Linked DNA regions of Homo sapiens: all the other regions are linked to region 3. The links are contacts of gene promoters, found by promoter capture Hi-C in blood cells and fetal thymus (Javierre and others, 2016). All regions are on one chromosome and are shown on one strand. The core of a region is centred on a gene start or on the middle of the fragment in contact, and the rest is flanking DNA. Distances in the headings are between cores, read along the strand shown.

Region 1 (5,120 bases), core at 605-3,104, 640 kb after region 3:
CTGCCACCACGTCTGGCTAATTTTTTGTATTTTTAGTAGAGATGGGGTTTCACCATGTTGGCCAGGCTGGTCTCGAACGCCTGGCCTCGTGATCCACCTGCCTCGGCCTCCCCAAAGTGCTGGGATTACAGGCGTGAGCCAGTGCGCCCGGCCTAGTACAGTCATTTGATTCTTGTCTGTCTCCCTCTACCTCCTAGAACATGAAGTCCACAGCATGGGTCACGGGCCTGTGTGTGCTTATTCTCCCTGCAGGATCTAGCATGACACCTCATGTGGAGTCACCTAGTATGCACCGCAGGCCAGGGTCTGAGCTGCCCTGTGAATGACTGGCATTAGACATCTTGCAAACCCTGTGCTGTGATGGTCTTATTCCAGAAGGGCTGTGGGGGTGTGAGAGCACAAAGAGATGTATGGGTGGAAATGGGATTGAAGCTTCTAGAGCTGTGCAGAGGCCTTATCCCATGGCCACTGCTCTCCTTGCACACAGGCCCACACCAACCAGAGTCCTCAGACTTTGCTGTCCCCAGCACGCCGGTGAGAAGCAAGTAGGCTGTAAGCAGAGTTACATGGTAGGATGAAACCTCTCTCGGGTGGTGGTCTCTTCTCTGGCTGCGCATGGGACTCCGTCATGGTTCTTTATTCCATAGTTCAAAGTTCCGTGGTGCAGGGTATTCAGGACATTAAATACGTTTGTTAGAACCAGCTCATTGGAATTCTGCCGTAGGTGCTGCTGGTTTAGATTTTAACAAAAGCTTCAAAGCCTCTTTTGTATTAGTCCGTGAAAGGATAAACTCACTGGTGAGGAGTAGAAGCTGCTCGCTCTTGAGCGCAGGTAGGTGTTATTTTTCTTCTCATCCTTGAAAATATATGAGGGTGAAGGCAGGAAGATGAGGAGAGAGTGGAGGATCAGTAAGTATTTTTAGGATGGTCTTTGCACGGAAAACATGTTTCCAGTAACATGTTTTGGAAACATTTTATTTGCGGCATAAGAAGATGCTGACACCTTGGCCGGCTCCCACAGGCAGCTGTTTATTGGGGCCGTGGTATCATCGCTGTAGCCAGGCTCGTGGGTTTTGGAACTGATTTTCGATTTGAGAGGCCAGACTTCTGTGACACCCCCCAAGCATCATTTCCACGGCAACCAGCTGTGATGAGATGGGGGTTCTGACCTCGCAGGACCATTGCAACAAGAAGCAGATGAGCTTTTAGATAGAAAATTTACTCTTCTGTCTTGAACAAATTACATGTAACTGATTCTCAGTTTCCTCATCTCTGAAATAGAGAAAGGAACACAATGGCCCTTCAATTGTGTAATGAGGGATTTCTGTTGGGAAAGTAGATATGGAGGTACACATGCTATTATCATACCGTGTTTTCAAGGTCAACTGCACGACCCAAGGGTTGACACGCTGCAAAAGAGCTGTCTCCCCCTTGCTGCCCTGTTTCGTGTAGCTGCCGGCAGCCCTGCCTTCCCCTCTCCAACCTTGGCTCTGACGGCCAGGCTCTTGCTTGCTCCTTAGTCACACTGGCCTCCTGGCTGGTTCCTGAATGGGCATGCTCATGTCGACACTAGGACCTTTGCACTGCGGTGCCCTATTCTCCCGGAGAGTTGCATGCCCACACCCTGCCTTTGTTCAGTTATCTGCTCAAAATCATCTTGCTAGGCCTTACCAGACCACCCCATAAAGAACAGGAACCCTGTACTCCCTGCCCCCATAACAGCCTTATGTTTCTTCATGGCAGTTCCAACCACTGGAAATTGTATGAGTTTCATGTGAGCAGGGTTGTTGGTGGTGTTTATTATTATTTTTTAGTTTGTCATATCTATGAAGTGGAACATTGTAGGCCATTAAGTCCTCGTGAAGAACCTTTTGTTATTCTATTTACTTATTTTGTAGGAAACTTAATTTCAAACAATGAATAGCGTATCCGAGATCATATAGGTGGCAAATGGCGAATGGTGCTTGATTGAAACCCAGGTTGACACAGAATCATAAATGTTCTCCTTGCTTCAAGTCTGCCTCTCCTTCCACCTGTCTTCTGCTGTTTGAGCATCCTGCCTTTGTGCATTTCTCTGGCTCTGCCTTTATTACACCTGGGCTCATCCTGACTTCACTCGCCTAGCAGTGCTCTCCTCTCAATGCTCCTTGGTCGCCAACACTGCCTCTGCCCTAGGGTAGAGCTCCTCAGTGCAGTGGTGTGTTCTTGGAGAACCTTGTGCCTGGCATTCTAGGGTTCAGGCCAATGCCAGGGGACAGGCAGGCTGCCTTGGCTTCCTTTCTTCCAGGAAGAGAACAGGTATGATGTGTGTGTTAGGAATGGCCAGGCCCCTGCTGTGCATATGAGGACACCTCTGAGAGCCACATCCTTCACTTTCTCCCCGTGGGGTCAGGCATACTAACAGCTGCAAAAAGGACCCCTTGACAAGGTCTCACCAAAGGGTATTTTGATATCCTGTTCTTTAGGGGTTATTTTTTGTATAAACATTTATTTTTGTGTTACCTGATGTTACATGATGGAATACCTTATGTGCAGTTTATACATGATCTTCTTCACCCTACCTGAGATAATGTCAACATTATAATCCCTGGAAAGGTGGGACAAGCTGAGAACATCTCCTTTTATAGAAAACATGAATGATGCCACAGTTACAGGTACTTTGATCTTACTTTGTTCACTGGACAGATGCCTGTACACCAGGCCTTTAACTTTCATGCTGTAAATGGCAAACCTGCAGTTTCCTATTCTCTGGGTTGTAGACAGGATGATGCTTGCTTGTGCTGTTTTCAGCTAGTTTGTTGTTTAAAATGGCCACTATATAAAGAAGCCATGGATGTGATTTCTGGAGTTAACACTTACTGCAGTCTCTGTGATGAGCACTTGGTCACATTTTCCCTCATCCCTACCCTCTGCTCTGCTCTTTTTAGGGAAAGTACGGTGGCCAGACTTTAACCAGGAAGCTTATGTTGGAGGGACGATGGTCCGCTCCGGGCAGGACCCTTACGCCCGCAACAAGTTCAACCAGGTGGAGAGTGATAAGCTTCGAATGGACAGAGCCATCCCTGACACCCGGCATGACCAGTAAGTACCCCACTAAGCACCTGCTGCAGCTTCATTTGCTTTCACACAAACCAGTACGTCGCTTTCACCTGTGACACTAGAACTTCTCCATTACTCTGGGAAATTGAATGTGTGTTGTAAAACTAGGAAAAATCCTGAGGTATATGGCAATGGAACTTCATCCATAGGCAGTGGAAGGATGGTTCTAGATTCAGCTCTAGTCTTTAGGTGCCCTGTGGCAGTGTGCAGAGGCTGTGGGTTTCTGGCCAGAGCGTGGAAGTCAGAAAGAGAGTTGTGTGACTGGCTTTATATTTAGTGATCACTTGTTATTTTTATGATCCATTCACAAAAATGCAAAATTTGTCATTGTTCCCAACCTTGGAGGAAGAAAATCTAAATTCCTGCTTATTGTGACAGCTTATATTGGAAATGTTCTAAAGATTAGAAAGGAGAAATGAACTACCCAGCACAATAGATGTTAAATTGAGCAGAAACACAGGAGGGACAGGTGCCACATCTCCACACCCTGTACTAAAGGAAGGGCTCTTGTCCACATCTTTCTTTCTATTTTTAGAGATAGGGTCTCCCTCTATCACCCAGGTTGGAATGCAGTGGTGCGATCATAGCTCACTGTAACCTCAAACTCTTGGGCTCAAGCAATCCTCCCATCTCAGCCTCCTGAGTAGCTAGGACTACAGGCATTCACCACTACATCCAGATAATATTTATTTAAAATTTTTTATTTTTATTTTTTGGTAGAGGTGAAGTCTCTCCATTTGCTCAGGCTGGTTTTGAACTCCTGGCCTTAAGTGATCCTCCCGCCTTAGCCTCCCAAAGTGCTGGAATCACAAACATGAACCACTGCTCTCCTGACCTCCTTCTTTTTCTTTTTCTTTTTCTTTTTTTTTTTGGAGACTGAGTCTTGCTCTGTTGCCTAGGCTGGAATATAGTGATGTGATCTTGGCTCACTGCAACCTCTACTCCTCTACTTCCCAGGTTCAAGCAATTTGTGGCTCAGCCTCCCGAGTATCTGGAATTACAGCTGCCTGCCACCACACCTGACTAATTTTTGTATTTTTAGTAGAGATGGGATTTCACCATGTTGGCCAGGCTGGTCTCAAACTCCAGACCTCAAGTGATCCGCCCGCCTCGGCCTCCCAAAGTGCTGGGATTACAGGCATGCTCCACCTTGCCCACCCCTTTTTATTCTTCAAAGATCTTGAGAGTGGAGGGTACTTTGGGGTCTATGAAGCTCAGCTCAGGAGGTTGGTAGGCATTTTAAAAAGAGTATTTGTCACCACTTATCAGGAAAGTGATATGCATAACCCTCATTGTTATCCCATACCTGTAAGTTTGCTGATAAGAACCTTGATTGGGAGGTCTTTCACATTGGAATTCTCAGTGAATTAGTCTTGTTTCAGATTATTAAAAAATAAGGAGCTGCATTTTGAAGGCAGCTGTTTTCCTGGGTGCTTGGTATATCTTCCTGCTAAGTTAGAGTCATTCATTCATCAGTGAATGGAATATAGATTACACATCTACCATATGTCAGACTCTGTGCTCGGATCCTAGCATTTCACCCAGAAAAATCTGGTCCCATTCCAGCTGCTAGGGGTGGCAGGTGCACCAGGAAGTGAGGTCGTGTAGCTCCATGGGTTGGGCAGTCTACTTTGCATGAATACTTTTGAGGCACTCAGGAGGGTGGGAGGGTCAGGACAGGTCCCAAGAGCGGTGAATTGGGTGGGGACACCCAGGAAGAAGGAAGTGCAGAAGCCCTGCCAGGAAAGCATGGGGCTCCCAGAGAGCCAGCAAGTGTCTAATTTCACGGGCTGGAGTTTCAGGGATTGATGGGGGAGGGAGAGCTGGAGAGAGACAAATGGCCAGTGAAACTACATTCACACACACTGCATACAGTGAAAGAAGATTTTTCTCTCTTACTCTCAAGGACTTTATGGACAGTGTAGGTGCCAGTTAACTGCCAGGAGCTTCCTTTCTTAACAGCTTTCTTTGGGTTCTAGTCAGCTCTGTTCACCTATTCCAGCTCATATTTAAGAAATATG
Region 2 (4,905 bases), core at 1,977-4,476, 600 kb after region 3:
TCTGAGTGGAGGACAAAAGCCTTGCTTTAAAAGGACTAATTCTGTAGTGATTTTGCCACATGGAGAGGGGAGGGAACTATTGTGTCAGATCAGGAAAACCATGGGATCAGTGCTAAGGGCCTGTGTGGTGGGCTCTGTCTGGGTGGGAGAGACTGTGTCCTGGTCATGGGGCTCAGTCTGTGGGTGGGTGATAGAAGAGTAAAGCTTTTGTGTTTTTAGGGTGGGGAAGAGAAGAGAGAGTCATTGATTTTAGATACAAGTGGAATACCACGTAGACCTGGCCTCTGGGTGGTGATGACCTTCTGGGGTTGATGTCTGGAGACGGTGCGGTTTTGGGATGGGGGAGCAGACGAGGGAGAGAGAGAGAGAGAGAGAGAAAGAGAGAGAGAGTGTGTGTGTGTGTGTGTGTGTGTTTTACAGCAAAGACCTGGATCCTGAATCTTGGGGAGAAAACTCCTTGCATTGTACATATTGGGCTGGTTACATGGCTGAAGTTCACCGTGTCATTTTAGGCCTGTTTCTGGCTTCCACACTGGTTTGCAATGTCATCCTAGGGAAGTCAGCTTGTCCTTGGTAGGATATATTCATTGGTGAGTTCACTCAAGAGACTCCTTTTTGCGTTTCTTTACCTTCAACGTTCGTTTCCTAAAATTGATTATTCCTTCATAAAGTTGCCAGCATTTTCAACATGCTTCCTAGATGCTGGATATTTTATTATCGTTTGTCACGGATCAATTTATTTTTTTGGCCCTTAAACTATCACATTTTCTGCAGTTAAATTTGCTTAACTTTCTAATGCAGGGGCAGAATGTAACCTGCAGGTTGTGGCTTTAGAAAGCAATGTGGAACTCGGGGCCATGGTAAGCAAGTTGGTGGTGGTTTTTTTTAATAGCACATCTCATCCTTTGATGTCAGAACACTGTCTACACACTCTGATTCATTTCAGTCAGTCCCTAAAATGTGAAGATGAAATGTTGGGGAGACAGATCCTCTGGCCTGAGGAAGCTAGCCGTCTTGTTTGGGAGATAAGAAACATCAACTGTTTTGAAAATACTTTGGTTCTATCATTAGAGAGCTGATCAAGTGCAGTAAGAGGCAAGGTCAGACTGGGCTGTATTATGTTTTGATTTGGAGAAACTATCACGAAAGAGGTAACATTGAGTCAGAGCCTGAGAGAATTGTGGAGAATCCCTGCAGGAGTAAATAAGACCATCCCAGGAGGGCTCTCATTTAAGGCCTCGTGTACTGTGGTCATTTGACCTTGGTTCAGATGCCACTTCAGTTTAGATGCATTTAAAAGCAGAGAAAACATTGGAACTTACTGTGTAGTATTGAGTGAGCATTAATTGAGATGTGTGTGAACCATTGAGCATGATACCTGGCGTGTCGTAAGCACCATTATAGCAAACTTATAGAAAGCTGCATTATGTCACTATACACCTAGGGGAGTGGCTTTGGGGGGAAAAAAAGCAAAAATGCCACCAAGTACTGGCAAGGACATAGAGCAGCTGGAACTCTTATCCCTTGCCAGTGGGAATGCAAAATGGTACAACCACTTTGGAAAATAGTTGAGCAGTTTCTTATAAAGCTAAACACATGTTCTCATACAACGCAGTAATCCCACCCTTAGATATTATCCAAGGGAAATGGAAATTTATGTGCTCTTGGGATTCATAATGGCATTATTCATATTTGCCAAAACTGGAAACTACGTAACTGTCCCACGACTGGGGAATGGATGAACAAGCTGTGGTTTGCGTACATGGTGGAATGCAGCATGTGGCGGGATACCTCCTGCAGTGGAAAGGAGACAAGCACGGTTCACACAATGTGGATGGATCTCTGTACATTATGTGCATTAAGAAGCCAGGTCCAAAGGCTACATACTGTATACTTCTATTCATATGACATTCTGGAAAAGGCAAAACTACAGAGAAAGCAGATCAAGGATTGCCAGGGGCTGGAGAAGAGAGTTAACTACAAATGTACTCAGGGGAGTTTTGGAGGATGGTGGCACTGTTCTATATCTTGATTGTGGTGGTGGTTGCATGACTATATGCAGATGTCAAAGCTCCCAGATCTGGATACTAAGAAGAGTGAATTTTACTGTATGTAAATTATACTTTTAATTTAAAAGCAGAGAAAAAAAATCATAAGCCAAGTCAGGGAAGTGAGAAGGATCTTGTTGTATGTGGAGAACCGTCATGGAACAGGCCAGAACTGAGCACAGATCAGGTTGAATGGGTAGGATGAACTGTGACTCCAGAGGCATTGAAAGGGAAATGTTTGCATGGGGCGTGGTGGAACACAGAGAGCCCTCGGGAGGCCCGGGTAGCAGGGGGGCAGGATGAAGGGGGCATTTCGTGTTGTGTGAGGGATGAGTAGCGTGGGGAGATGAGGCCAGAGGTTCCAGCCAGGAACTAGTGCAGTTCTCTAGTCTGTAGATAAGGCCTGAACACAGCAGTTGGTTGTAGGATTCTGGAGAGACTGGAGCTTAGACCTGATTACATTATATATGCACTGTCTTTTCTCAGAGATGGGGAAACTAAGGCATGAAAACATTAACTTTTATTTTGGAAAAAAGCTAAACATAGAAGTAAGAGGGAGGCCTCCTGAGGCACTTTGCCAAACTTTATGCACAGCAACTATGACCTGCAAAATCTTTTTAGCCTGGGCTCCCTCTCTTGACCTGAGACTCTTCCAGGGAGCCTGGTATCCACAAGAGTGGAAGCAGCTGGTCAGGGCCACGGAACTGGAGATGCCCCATGGGACAGAAGGCCTGGGGCTCTGGCAAAGTGTCTTGTAAGTGTTCCTGTCATTTCCCTCCACGTAAACCAAGTCAGGCTTGCAAATCAGCAGCCTTTCAGGTCCTTTCTCTCCTTCTGGAAGCTCTTGCATGTTGCAACCCCCTACCCACCCCGCCACCTCCCATCACAGATAAAGATTTTGTACCATCAGCCTGCAAGTGAGTTGGATGAATGCCATCTGAAAGGCTTTGTTCGTTTGCACACGAGGTCGTGAATAGCTGGCAACAAAGAGGATTGAACCTTGGACCTAGTGTGTCTGAGCAGTGCCCCAGCCCCCATGCCGCTTTGGATTTCAGTGGCCTCTGCAGCAATTTATTATTCTTACATCAGATGTTTGAAGTAGGTGAAGGGGCAGGTGGCATGTGTCTGGTGAGGTTGCTGACACTGCTTTTGGATGAGAGAGAGAGTAGTGGTTGAAACAGAGCATTCAAAAAAGCGTACACTTTAACCTGTAATCCGCAAACATTCCTTTGAGTTTACCCAGCCGTGGGAAAGGACGCTGTACCCCTGCCCTATTGGCTGCACCCTTTGCTGTTGATGTGAGGCTTTATTTACCTGGGAATTGACAGGGTTTTGGTCCATGATTGCTCCTTTCTCCGCAATCACATTTAATGCCCATGATATCTCATCTTTGCACACGAAGGCAAAGCCTTCTACTGCTTTTTCTCTTAAAGTGTTCAGCACTCCCCTGAGTTTATTAGAAGGATCAGAAGAAAGAGACCCTGAGTGTGAGGCTAGGTCAACCGGAGAAATTCACCCAATTATTTCGTTTCTTTGTTTGGATCCCTGCTTTTCATTTCTACCTATTCTGAAAGAGAGGCTTAAAACTAAAGTCCGGTTAGTTGAGGATCAGATGTGTCATACTTTTCTCAGAGGGGAGGGGACGGTCACTTTGCTCTAAGTTTGGGCCATGAGGTCCACACTGAGCCTACATGGGGTAGGGGGAAACCGTGAAGTGTGCAGTGACCTGAGGGTGCCAGATCACCCCGAGCCGTTGTGGTTCCCACTGGGCAGGCTGTACGTGGTGAAGGTGATAGACTGCATGTCTCATGCAGGCCAAGTGCCTGTCGGTCAGCTTGAGGGAGAAGATACCTTGTCTACCTCCCCCCACCTGCAGGCTGGCTGGCTTTGGGTGCAATGACCCTCCTCTTCCTTGAATCGCTGTTTCATTGTGGACCTGTTGGAAGTGCCAGCTTGGCTGGCCTTTGGCTGGATCCCTGTTTGCTAGAGCTTTGTTCCTACTCTGGAGGAGTCAGCTGCTGTGCCTTCTGGGACTGCCAAGAGTTGCCAAGGGGAGTGGGGAGTCCTCTCTGTGGGGTGTCGTCTGAATCCAGCAGCCGCACCACCCAGGTGCTTCCCTCCTCCCCACTCCTAGGCCAATGTCCTTAGTTTCTGCTCACTGATCAGACGATTATCCTTCTCCAGGATGACCACCATCATCTCATAGTCCTTCCTCACTCCCTTCCATGAAGTGCTTCTCCAACCCATTGTCTCTGTCATAGTGAAATGATTCTACTGTTAGTATCAAGATTTTCCACTAGTGCTAATAACAATCCCTGATGTTATCAAACATGTAGGATGGGCCAGGCATTGTACCAGGTGTCTACAGAAATCCTTTGTGCTGACTGTTGACCACTATCCCCATTCTGTAGGCGAGAGTGAGCCTTAGGAAGGGCGTTGGACGTGGCCAGGATCACACACCATGCCTTGCACTCACCTCTGATCTCTGAGGGCCAGGGCCTCCCTGTATACAATGATCTCTGCATCTCTTCTTCCTAGCAGAAGACTCAAAAGAACTTTCAGATGTGGGAGGCCAAGGCAGGTGGATCACCTGAGGTCAGGAGTTTGAGACCACCCTGGCCAACATGGTGAAACCCCGTCTCTACTAAAAATATAAAAAAATTAGCCGGTCGTGGTAGTGGGCGCCTGTAATCCCAGCTACTCAGGAAGCTGAGGCAGGAGAATTGCTTAAACCCAGGAGATGGAGGTTGCGGTGAGCCAACATGGTCCCACTGCACTCCAGCCTGGGTGACTGAGTGAGACTCCATCTAAAAAAAAAAACACGAAACTTTCAGATGAATAAGTTGGTTCTATCAGA
Region 3 (5,404 bases), core at 2,183-4,682:
TGATGAAGTGTCGCTTATCCCATCAATCCACACCCTGCTCCTCCTCAAGCACCTGCATCTTTTAAGAGTCCTTCTGGCCAAAGTGATACGATGGAGAATTATCAGTGAAAAGGGACCTTACATCTGTATGAAGACAGCTGCGAATTCCTCCCCAAAGGGGCGGCTTAGGCCTTCCTTTAGAAGAGGAATGTAACACAGTTATGCTAAAGCTGCTTTCAGCACACGTCTGTACATATTTCATGGTAGACTGTGTTTTTAAAGTTTCTGATGCAATCAAAGTTTTCTGTTCACACAGTTTAGGAGGCATACCCAGCAAAATGCTGAGACAGATGGAGGTATTATTATTAAAATATAAAGCTGCATTTTTGAAAAAAGATTTTTGTATTTTTCTAAAAATTAACAAATTAACATTGGAATTCCTTTTCAGCTCAGCTTTTTTAGTGTTTTGATTAGAAAATACACACACGCAATTGCTCTTTACCTCCAGCATTTCAAAGAGATGTGCCAACACCTCAGGCTGCTCTTAGAATGATAAATTACACATTTTTTTTTAATTACAAATTAACAATGACCACCACTTCCTCTTAATCCTAACTGGCTTTAATATATAATAACTTCTCAGGAAATCATACATCTAAATAAGGGCTTTTTATCAGATATCCTTATCCTCATAACATACAATATGTATTTATCTGTTTGAAAAGCAAAAAAAAAAAAAAAAATAGTGTGCCAACCCTAGGCTTGTTTCTTCAAATTATATATTCATAATTTCTCAATGTGGTGGAACAAAATATATTCTGTTCTTAAAATAAAAAGAAGGCCGGGTGCAGTGGCTCACACCTGTAATCCCAGCACCTTTGGAAGGCCAAGGTGGGCAGATCACCCGAGGTCGGGAGTTCGAGACCACCCTGACCAACATGGAGAAACTCTGTCTCCAAAAATACAAAATTAGCCGGGTATGATGGCACATGCCTGTAATCCCAGCTACTTGGGAGGCTGAGGCAGGAAGATCGCTTGAACCCGGGAGGCGGAGGTTGCGGTGAGGTGAGATCACGCCATTGCACTCCAGCCTGGGCAACAAGAGCAAAACTCCATCTCAAAAAAAAAAAAAAAAGGTACGAGCTGGGTGTGGTGGCACATGCCTGTAGTCCCAACTACTCAGGAGGTAGAGGCAGAGCTGCTTGAGCTGAGGAGTTCAACACAAGTCTCAGCAACACAGTGAGACCCCTATCCCAGAAAAACAAAAGAAGAAAGAAAAAAGGAGGCAGTCTCGTCTTGTTTAAGGCTGTCACCAAAACATACTAGCATGGCAGGATATCTGGGGACAGAGTGAGGGGTCACAGGAACAATGGTCATGGCATAAGAGGACTGGGCACGTGTAGGCCACCAAAGCCTGACACCTAAACACCCTTCCTGACATCTAGTATTTCAGAAACAAAACAGAACTGGATTTCCTTACACTTACTTTGAGTCACATACAGAAGTGGTGGGCGCACCCGATGATGCTCAGGGTTTCTAAAGGCCTCACTCTGTGCCTGGTGGTATGGTCATTTATTCCTTCACTGAAGGCACTCTGAGCGCCTGCTCTGTGCCGTGCACATGCTAAGAACTAGAGACAGAAAGATGAATCGCACAGTCCCCGTCTCAAGCAGCTCAAAGTCCAGTGAGAGCTCCTAGTCTCCAATGTTTTTAAAAAGAGGAAAGAGAAAAAGATATTTTACAACAAAATCTACACTCAACCAACTGAACAATGAAATAATTCTCTTTACACCCGAGTGATATCAACAGCCCCCTAAGCTTTCATAGCAACTGGTAGATGAAAAGTCGCCACCCTAACTGCTCTCCTCCACTGTGCAAACCTACTCTAAATCCCAAATCACTACCCAGGAGGGTCCTTTCTAAAGCAATGGATTTGCAGCAAAGAATGCTTTTCTGGTGTTGCACCTGACAACCTCACAGGCCCCACAGGCCCCCTTCCACAGCCCACAGGTGCAGGTTTACCTCTATACATACGAATATTTCATAGATGCTTCTCCCCACTAACCTAGAAGCCCCAGCAGAAGTGAGGACCATGTTTCCTTGTGCATGCCACTGTAAACCCAGGGCCCAGTCCAGAATGAGGGCTCAACAGATGTTTATAGAAGGAGTGAAGATTTAGAGAAATCGAAAAAATTTTAGATCTTACAAGGCCCTTGCATCTAAACACTCCTCCAATTATGGCTAAAAAATGAGGAGCTATAGAAAACTGTCCTATTTAAATTTTGTTTCTAAAAACATTCATTTTGGCTTCTTTTAAAAAAGTTACTCAATTACTGAACAGATCACTGGTGTGGCCTGTTGAACACAGTGCTGTAACTTCCTGCACAAGAGACAAGTCTGAAAGTTTTGCTTTCCGCTGTGAAAGCATTGGTGACTGCTTGACAGACTCGCTTGAAGCAAATAATGTGTTTTTGGTTAAAAAAAAAAAGTATAAACGCCTAATAACAAAATAGGCATATTTTTGGCTAGAATTTTTTTTTCCAAGGAAAAACCTCCAGCTCATTTTGCTGCCTAAGCCAAAACAGATGCTCCCACTAAGTTGGTGGTGGAACAGACCCAAAGATTCCAATAATGACATATATAACGTGTGTCAACAAGAAAACAAGTGTAAAATCTGCAAACGAGTCCCCAGCTAAGGCGAAATCTTGACAACGCTACTCTGAGGTGAGCGATCCCCTCCCTCCTCCGGGGTTAGGAGTGGCCCAGGAGAGGCGGCGGTGACACGCGCTCTGCGGCCCGGCCGTGTCCCTCTCGGCGCCCCGGGACCCCGCGTGTGGAGAAGGAGAGGCCCGGCGGAGGGAAGTGGCCGGGGAGGACCCTACCTGCCAGCCTCCGGCGCTCAGGGTACGCCAGCCCCAGGAGCTTCCGGGCCTCCGGGAGTCCGGCCGCTGCGGGGCGCAGCCGCCCCTTGTCCCCGGGAGGCGCCGCCGGCCCGCGCCGCCAGGCCTCGTCCCCTGCCCAGGCAGCGGCTGCGGGACCGCCCGGGAACCGGGCGCGCGGGAGCCGAGGAGCGCCTGGCCCGGCAAAAGCCCCGCACCTGCAGCTGCCGGGGCCGCGAGCCCACAGCCCCAGGAGCCGCGCGAGGCCCAGGACGCCCCGCGAGGCGCCCGGACCCCCGCCCCGGCAGCCGCTCCTCCAGCGGCGCGCGGCTCCAACGCCCCAGAGCAGCGCGGGCCCCGCGCCCCATAGCCGCGCCGGCCTCAGGCCAGTGAACGGCGATAGGGACCCGGGAACGCGGCTGGCCGCGGCCCACACGCAGGCTACCGGCAGGAGCCGACCTGGCTCGGCAGGGCTCGGTGGCTCGAGCAGCCGCAGCGGCCAGGCAGGGGGGCCTCGCATGGCGCTGCGTGCGACCCGTACGCCTCAGCCCGCCGGCCAGGCGCGCGCAAAGCCCGAGGACCCTCCCGGCCCGGCCCCGAGCAAAGGGCGTGGACGCGGTGGCGCCCGCCCCTCCCCGCTGGCTGTCACCCGCCTTATCGTGCCTGCACCCTCGGGCTGCGCCCGCCCCCGCCCCATCCTCGTCCGCGCGGTGCCGCGCCTCTCCGCCCCACTCCGGGGACTGCAGCTACCCGGACCTTGCAAGCCACCCTTCCGAGCGCCCCCAACCCGCTCGGGTGCCCTCCCTGCAGCGCCCCCAACTGCCCGCTGGCGGAGGAGCGCCGGGCGCGCCAGCTGGGACGAGGCCCGGGAAGCCCAGGAGCACGGCTGCGCCTGCGTACTGGGCGCAGGGAACTTTTTCGCGCTTCGCCGTCCCCTCTGGTCTGAACTTGGGAACGACACGAGCTCTTTCTCACGCCGGCAGACCGGGCGGAGCGCGCAGACGCGACCACACGATGGCCGGCACAAAGATGGGGCGGGAGGACAGCGTGCTGGATACGGCGTGGGGCGGGTCCGCGGCCCGGGAGACCCATGCTGGGGCGGCCCTGTCACTCGTCTCGCTGCCAAGCACAGGGCTGAGGTGCGGAGGGACCACTGAGAGGACTTCGCTGCGTGTCAGCTCAGCTCTGGACGGCGTGGAGGAGGTGGTTGGCGAATAGTGAAATGTATATAACTTTGAGAAGGGAAGAGATCGTTTCTTTTTTTTCTTTTTTTTTTTTTTCTTGAGACGATCTCGGCTCACTGCAACCTCTGCCTCCCAGGTTCAAGTGATTCTCCCTTCTCAGCCTCCCAAGTAGCTGGGATTACAGGCATACGCCACCACACCCGGCTGATTTTGTATTTTTAGTAGAGACGGGGTTTTACCATGTTGGTCAGGCTCTTTTCGAACTCCTGACCTCAGGTGATCCGCCCGCGTCAGCCTCCCAAAGTGCTGGGATTGCAGGCGTGAGCCACCGTGCCCGGCCTGAGATCGTTTCTTAACTAGAGCAGAAATTTGAAGACAGGCGTGGTCGAGGCATTCCCGCTGTTCGAAGTGGAAAACACTAATCAGAAGGCAATGCATCTTAATACACGTGCATGGAAAGACAGGAGAGAACATTAAAACTCACTGGGACACTTTATGGAGACTTCATGGGGGCGGGGGGGGATATGTACCTGAGGTCCAGTGAGTCGTGGGTAGATTTTTGTAGACTCCTAGGTATTTTTACTGGACCTGGACAGGGTACTGTCAGTTGCAAATTTTATGGGTTCACAAAATAAAAAAACCTCAATAATCAACATAAACATTTTAGTGCAATATTTTTAAAAATCAAAATTAATTTAAAAAATCCGTAATGAACAAAATATAAAAAATTTTGATTGAGTATCCACTCCTGACCTTTCACAATCCTGCCTCTCTTCTCTCGCTCTAATCCCAGCCCTGGAAACTTTATTTACAAAAACTGACAGCAGCTGCCCTTAGTTTGGCAGCTGGAAAATGGGAAAGAGAAAGTAAGAGGAAGGTGAGATTTGGGTTAAAGTTGTCACTTTCTCTTCAACTGGGAGGGTATCAATCCTTGATGTTTCTTTAGTTGGGCTCAAAAAGGAGGTAGCGGCCGGGCGCGGTGGCTCACACCTGTAATCCCAACATTTTGGGAGGCTGAGGCGGGCGAATCACGAGGTCAGGAGTTCGAGACCAGCCTGACCGACGTGGTGAAACCCCGTCCCTACTAAAAATACAAAAATTAGCCAGGTGTGGTGGAGCGTGCCTGTAATCCCAGCTACGCAGGAGGCTGAGGCAGGAGAATTGCTTGAACCCGGGAGGCGGAGGTTGCAGTGAGCTGAGATGGTGCCACACCGCACTCCAGCCTGGGAGACAGAGCAAGACTCCGTCTCAAAAAAAAAAAAGAAAAGAAAAAAAAAGAGGAGGTAGCGGCCAGGCGGTGGCTCACACCTGTAATCCCAACATTCTAGGAGGCCGAGGCGGGCGGATCACTCCAGGTCTGGA
Region 4 (5,279 bases), core at 148-2,647, 580 kb after region 3:
GTCTCATTAAACACTGACTCCCTTCTCCCCTCCCCTCCCCCTGGCAACCACCATTCTACTTTCTGTCTTCATGAATTTGACTCCTCTAGGTCCCTCATGTTAGTGGAATCATCCAGTATTTATCCTTTTGTGACTGGCTTATTTCACTTAGCATAATGTCCTCAGGGTTCATCCATGTTGTAGCGCGCGTCAGAGTTTTCTCCCTATTTAGGGCTGAATATTCCATTTTATGGTTAGGCCACATTTTGTTGATCTAGTCACCCATTGATGGACACGTGGGTCCTTATGGCTATTGTGAATAGTGCTGCTGTGAAATATGGGTATACAGATATCTCTTCAAGACCCCGCTTTCTTTTGTTTTCCTTTTTTTTTTTTTTTTTTTTTTGAGACAGGGTCTCGCTCTATTGTCCAGGCTGAAGTGCGTGCCACAATCATATCTCACTGCAGCATCAAACGCCTGGGCTTATTTTCCCGCCTCTGCCTCCCAAGTAGCTAGGATGACAAGTGCTTACCACCATGCCAGGCAAATTTTTTGTTTGTTTTTTTGTTAGAGACGAGAGCCTCACTGTGTTGCCCAGGCTGGTCTTGAACTCCTGGCCTCAAGTGATCTTCCTGCCTTGGCCTCCCAAAGTGCTGGGATTACAGGTTTGAGCTACCACCCCTGGCCGAGACCTTGCCACCACACTGCTTAATAAAAGGCTGGGCTGCATTTTGGGATTAGGACCTCCTGTGGAGGTGGGGGGAGGGTGGGGAAGGAGAACGGTGGCATCCCAGCCAGGAAGCATGAGGGATGGCATCCGTCCACCAGGCCACAGGAAGCATAAGGGATGGCCTCCATCCACCCGGCCACTTCTTTCCACATCAGCATTCTTCCGCACTTGGGCCACACAGGGTCTGCGAGAACTCCAGGTGGCTCTTAGAGTGGCACTGACCAAGTAGTCTGTGTAGGGGGACTCACTGTGCCCCCCATGCTCAGAGGCTGTATGGTGAAGTCGTTAAGGGCCCGGGCTTATATCCAGCCCCGCCAGCTGATCACTCTTGATCTGGGGCAAGTAACTTAACCTCTGTGTGCCTCTGTTTCCTCCTTTGTAAAATGGGGAAAAAAGTAGTACCTACCTCCTAGGGCTCTTCTGAGGGTGACCTGGGTTAATATAATTAAATATACCTAGTACGTGCATAGTAAGCACCATTTAAGTGTCTAGAACATTATGGGTAAAAATACGCCTGTGCTTTGGTGAGTCTGGAAGTCTAAAGTGTAACTTTCCTAAGCTGGTCGTTGCCTGCTCTGTTCACCTAAGTTCGCATGCTCATTTGCTGAATGCTGTCTGCATACTTGCTGGTCAGCTACTTCTTGTCCTCTGTCTTACTGTGGGGCCTGCGTGGGAAGGCTGGGTTTTTCTGAACACTTGCTTATAAATTATCCTCCTTCTGTTCATTTAAAGCCAGATGCTCTCTATGTGAGAATTGGCCCGTACCCTGGGAGAAGGTTTGAGCTCTCCTGGGTCCTGGGGGCCAGCAATTCCAGGAGAGCCATTTCCTTCCTGTGGCTGCTCTTCAGAGCAGCAGCCTGCAGGCTGGGCCCATCCCTGGTTCAAACTGTTTTTAGGGGAGTGGGCTGGAGAGCTGCCCAAGTCCATGTCTGAGCAGCTGGTGAAGAGAATGGTGCTGGCTCCTCTAGGCTTCTGGTACTCCTGGAGCCTGAGTCCAGAGACTGAACCTCCTAGTCCTTCCCTTGCAGTGGATTCTGGGAATTGGGGTACTGGGCACTGTCAGCCCCATTCCCTGTGAGCATCTGGGCTTTGGGCAGGGTCCTCACTCTCTCTGGCTTTCAGTTTCTGCGTGTGAAAAATCAGGGGAATCCGCAGCCTGAGAGCTTCTCTGGAAGGTGTAGTTAGTTTTTGGTAAGAGATGTCCAGTTGTTTGCAGCAGCTGCTAGGAATGAAATGCAGAACTGGAGACATTCGAGAGCAGAAGAGCAGAAGCAGCAACAAGGTGTGGTGTGTGCAGGTTCCACAGTCACACAGCACCGCTGCCCATCCTTCATGGGGTCCTGAAGTCCCATGCAGAACTGCGGGGTGGTCCTGCTGAAGTTCTTGTGGATGCTGCTGCTGACCTGTAAAGAGGCATGGCAGGTGCAGTAGGGGCCAAGGAGAAAGAGGTCGTCTGTCGGCCTGAACACTTCCTTGGTTTTTTCTTGGCTTTACGCAGCATGTTGCTTTTCACATGGGAAAGTGTCAGCCCCACGCTCTTATTAAAGCATTGAGTTCTTCCAGGCCTCTGTTGCTGCTCTGATAACTGAAAGGGTATTGTGCTTGTCTTTATCTGCCACACGCACGTGGGTGACATTGATGCGCCAACCAGATGCCCCCAGCTGTGACAGGCAGAATTTAACTGTCGCCCTGCTCAGCGATCACCAGCTCATCTTGTTTGTCCTGATGATGGTCCCTCCTGTTATTTGGCTGTTTGTCAGATATCAAGAATTTTCTTTGTAATTAGGCTTTAATTGCTAACTTTTAAATTCTAATCACTTTCAAAATAGCACTCTTTTAAATGGAGGTGACACATCTTAGGACATTCAGAACGATACCTCCTATATTTGCCAGAACATATTCCACTTACAAAAGCAGCACCTGCGAGTGCTTGACAGCTGTGTCGTGGGAGGTGGCTTGATGCAGATCCTCCTGGCCACACCTGGATCGGGAGGCAGAGCAGGTTGGGGTAGGAGACGTCTCCGTGCTGCCTTCTGGGCCACATGTCAAAGAGTTGACACTGTTATTTCACAACCCTCTCCCTGTATCTAGAGTGACCATGCTATTTAGTGTCCAGACCTGAGTGCTTTTGAGAATGAAAGGGGAAATGTTAATAATTACATGGAGACAGTAGTTAGTATCCAGAACATTTGTCCTGTTTTGTGCCTGAAACCAAGAAAGACTACTACACTCGGCTTCTCTATAACCAGAGGATCACAGAGCCAGCGTCACCCGCAGCACCAAATGATAAAAGCTCAGAGTAGCCGGTGCCTGCATGTGAAGGGCGGTTTGTGTTCCTCGCTACTGGAAGTAGGATTATGGTTGTAATAATTATGTCGACTTCAGTATTTTTTCCTTAAGAAAGTTTTATTGTGCCAACATCTGCAACAATAGACGCTGTATACTCTTAGGTACCAAGCACCCACCAGGATTTCGCCATGCTTATTTTGTCTTTTCCTGTTTATGCCTGTGTGTGTGTGGTGGGGAGTTAGGGGTGGTAGTGGTGTGTTTTAAAGCAAATCTCGGATGTTATTTTTCTTCTTGTGATGCTTACTTCAAAGTAAGTACCACTAACCTTGTGCCAGTGTTCTTATGTGGGGTGAGGATTAATTAAAGACTAAGGGATTTGAAGAGCAACTATAAAGTATTAAAAAGCCTGGGAGTAGGTGGTTGATTTGGGGCAGAGGTTATGGTGTTGCTGATACAGTGGCTTCTAAGCTTCTTGTGGGAAGGATGAGTTTATCTTTGGCAGCCTTCAGTGATCTCCCCGCAGGCCTTGAGGTGAGATGTGTAGTGATGTCAGGCTCCTCTCTTGCTTGGTAACCTACAAACCAAGCAAGGTGAGAGGCCCGGCGGAGCATCCCAAGGGTCTCCCGATGGCCACTCCAGAGCTGCGTCATCTGTTTTCTGCTGCAGCATCTGCAGGCTCTCACTCATCCCGTTACACTTAGAGCGACCCATGTGCCTGTGGGCCCCTCCTGCCTCAGTACCAAGACTGTCCTTGGCACCCCCTCCCCAACCCCATTCTCAGATCGCCCCCTGTGTTGCTTGTTAGCAGGCAGGTTCCAGTGCAGACTGGCCGAATCTGAATTTCTCAGTGAGCGTCTCAGAAATCTGCACTGTCAGCTCCCCTGACCCCTAAGTTTGTGGGGTTTCCTGGCCAGGCCTCAGACTCTGGCAGTCGGGCCTGGGCCTTCTGAGGGGGTTTGTCCTGGAAATCCTGTCTTCCCCCAAGGGAAGCTCCCCCAAAGGAACCCTTTTAGGTGTCTGGTGTTTGAAGCCAGTCCCCCATTTCCCTCTGTTTTTGTTGTTATCACATACTGTAGGGATGGTTGTAATAAATACAGACTTTTAGAGAATGCAGCCAACTTGGTGGTTCTCTGGGGATTCCTCCGCTGAGGTCGGGGCTTAGACATTTACACGGTTTTCTTTTGCCTTTTGAGATTCTTATCCACAGCTAGTTGGTTGAAAGCCACCCACCTTGGCATAGTGCCAATGGGGGCCTTGCCCCGTGTGGTGCCTGATGCAGCACAGCAGGACGTCAGGCAAGCCCAGACGTCAGGCAGGCCCAGAACGTCACCTGTCTTCTTGGTGGCAGTGGTTCCATCTGGACTTGGAAATACCATGTTTGAAACAAGGTCCCTGTAATTACTTAATTGTAAAGAAATGAGAGGTAGCATTTCGGCTTGCTTGCCTGCCTGCCCAGCCCCTCTGGGAAGTGTGCCTTTCAAAGATGCTCGCCGCTTGCATTTTTATTATCCTGTGATTAAGAGAGAAGACGTTGGTCCACTCCTTGTCCAGGCTGCTTTGGGCTGTAGTGGACCTGCTTCTGGTGTTCCTTGAGGTTCTGCTTTCTTGTGAGGGTTCTTTTTTCTCTCTGCTTCTTATTAATCTGTAGCTGCTTATGTTTTTTGGCTTGGCTAAAAATAAGCACTTTTCCTTCTTCCTCCTGGGTTAGGAGTGAAAAAGACAGTCTTTGTATTTCTGCTGTTTGGAGTTGGATGTGAGAAATTGATAAGCTAAAAGACTGTAGTTATTTTTCCCCTCCCTTTTCATGTATCTCGTTAGGGAGCCCTGGAGGAGGAAGCTTTGGGAGGAGTCCCGCGCCTTCTCTCCCGCACCAGGTCTGAGAACTTGTTCGCAGCTATTCATGTCTTATGTGTGCCTGGTCACCCCTCTTCCTCTTTCAGTTTTGTTTTTTTGTTAATAGCTAAATCACATTTCTGGTTATTTCCTTAATATGGACAGTATTTTCATTTCCTCTGGAGGTGTTGATCGGAGGCCACTGCCTGCCTCCCTTCCTGACCCGGTTGGAGTGAAGCAGGTGTGGGCTCAGAAAAGCCTGCTTGGGAAGCACTCCTGTGTTCATTTACAACTCAGCCACCTTATACCAACCATACACTGCACACTCAGTATTAGATGAGAAAGGAGCAAACTCGGCTCTCAGGGAGCTGGGGCATTTAGGAAAAGGAAACAAATTAGTATAGTAAGATGCATTAATGAAACGGCATTGGGACTAACCTGGAGGGA

Evidence for each region. The method cuts DNA at HindIII sites, captures the fragments that hold promoters and counts their contacts. A CHiCAGO score of 5 or more calls a contact.
Region 1: a contact is called between a fragment that was not itself captured here and the fragment with the promoter of ABCB10 in region 3, in 1 of 17 cell types (endothelial precursors). The highest score is 6.0, in endothelial precursors.
Region 2: a contact is called between a fragment that was not itself captured here and the fragment with the promoter of ABCB10 in region 3, in 1 of 17 cell types (megakaryocytes). The highest score is 5.2, in megakaryocytes.
Region 4: a fragment that was not itself captured here is called in contact with the fragment with the promoter of ABCB10 in region 3 in 1 of 17 cell types (erythroblasts); the score reaches 6.9 in erythroblasts.

The regions. Positions count from the first base shown.
Region 1 is chr1:230,200,210-230,205,329 of GRCh38, forward strand. It overlaps GALNT2 (polypeptide N-acetylgalactosaminyltransferase 2), which reads left to right. Exons shown (of 16, transcript NM_004481.5): 3 at 2,928-3,081. Among named protein-coding and RNA genes, the nearest start is that of GALNT2, 140 kb to the left of the region's middle. RefSeq lists an enhancer at 162-661. The HindIII fragment of the contact is 2,208 bases long and covers 751-2,958 here.
Region 2 is chr1:230,155,856-230,160,760 of GRCh38, forward strand. All of the region lies in intron 1 of GALNT2 (polypeptide N-acetylgalactosaminyltransferase 2), which reads left to right. Among named protein-coding and RNA genes, the nearest start is that of GALNT2, 91 kb to the left of the region's middle. The HindIII fragment of the contact is 6,049 bases long and covers 203-4,905 here.
Region 3 is chr1:229,555,275-229,560,678 of GRCh38, forward strand. It overlaps ABCB10 (ATP binding cassette subfamily B member 10), which reads right to left and starts at 3,433. Exons shown (of 13, transcript NM_012089.3): 1 at 2,862-3,433. The coding sequence starts at 3,378. RefSeq lists silencers at 2,643-3,092, 3,153-3,852 and an enhancer at 4,023-4,212. The HindIII fragment of the contact is 4,467 bases long and covers 1,796-5,404 here.
Region 4 is chr1:230,141,426-230,146,704 of GRCh38, forward strand. The region is part of intron 1 of GALNT2 (polypeptide N-acetylgalactosaminyltransferase 2); the gene reads left to right. Among named protein-coding and RNA genes, the nearest start is that of GALNT2, 77 kb to the left of the region's middle. The HindIII fragment of the contact is 4,135 bases long and covers 1-3,465 here.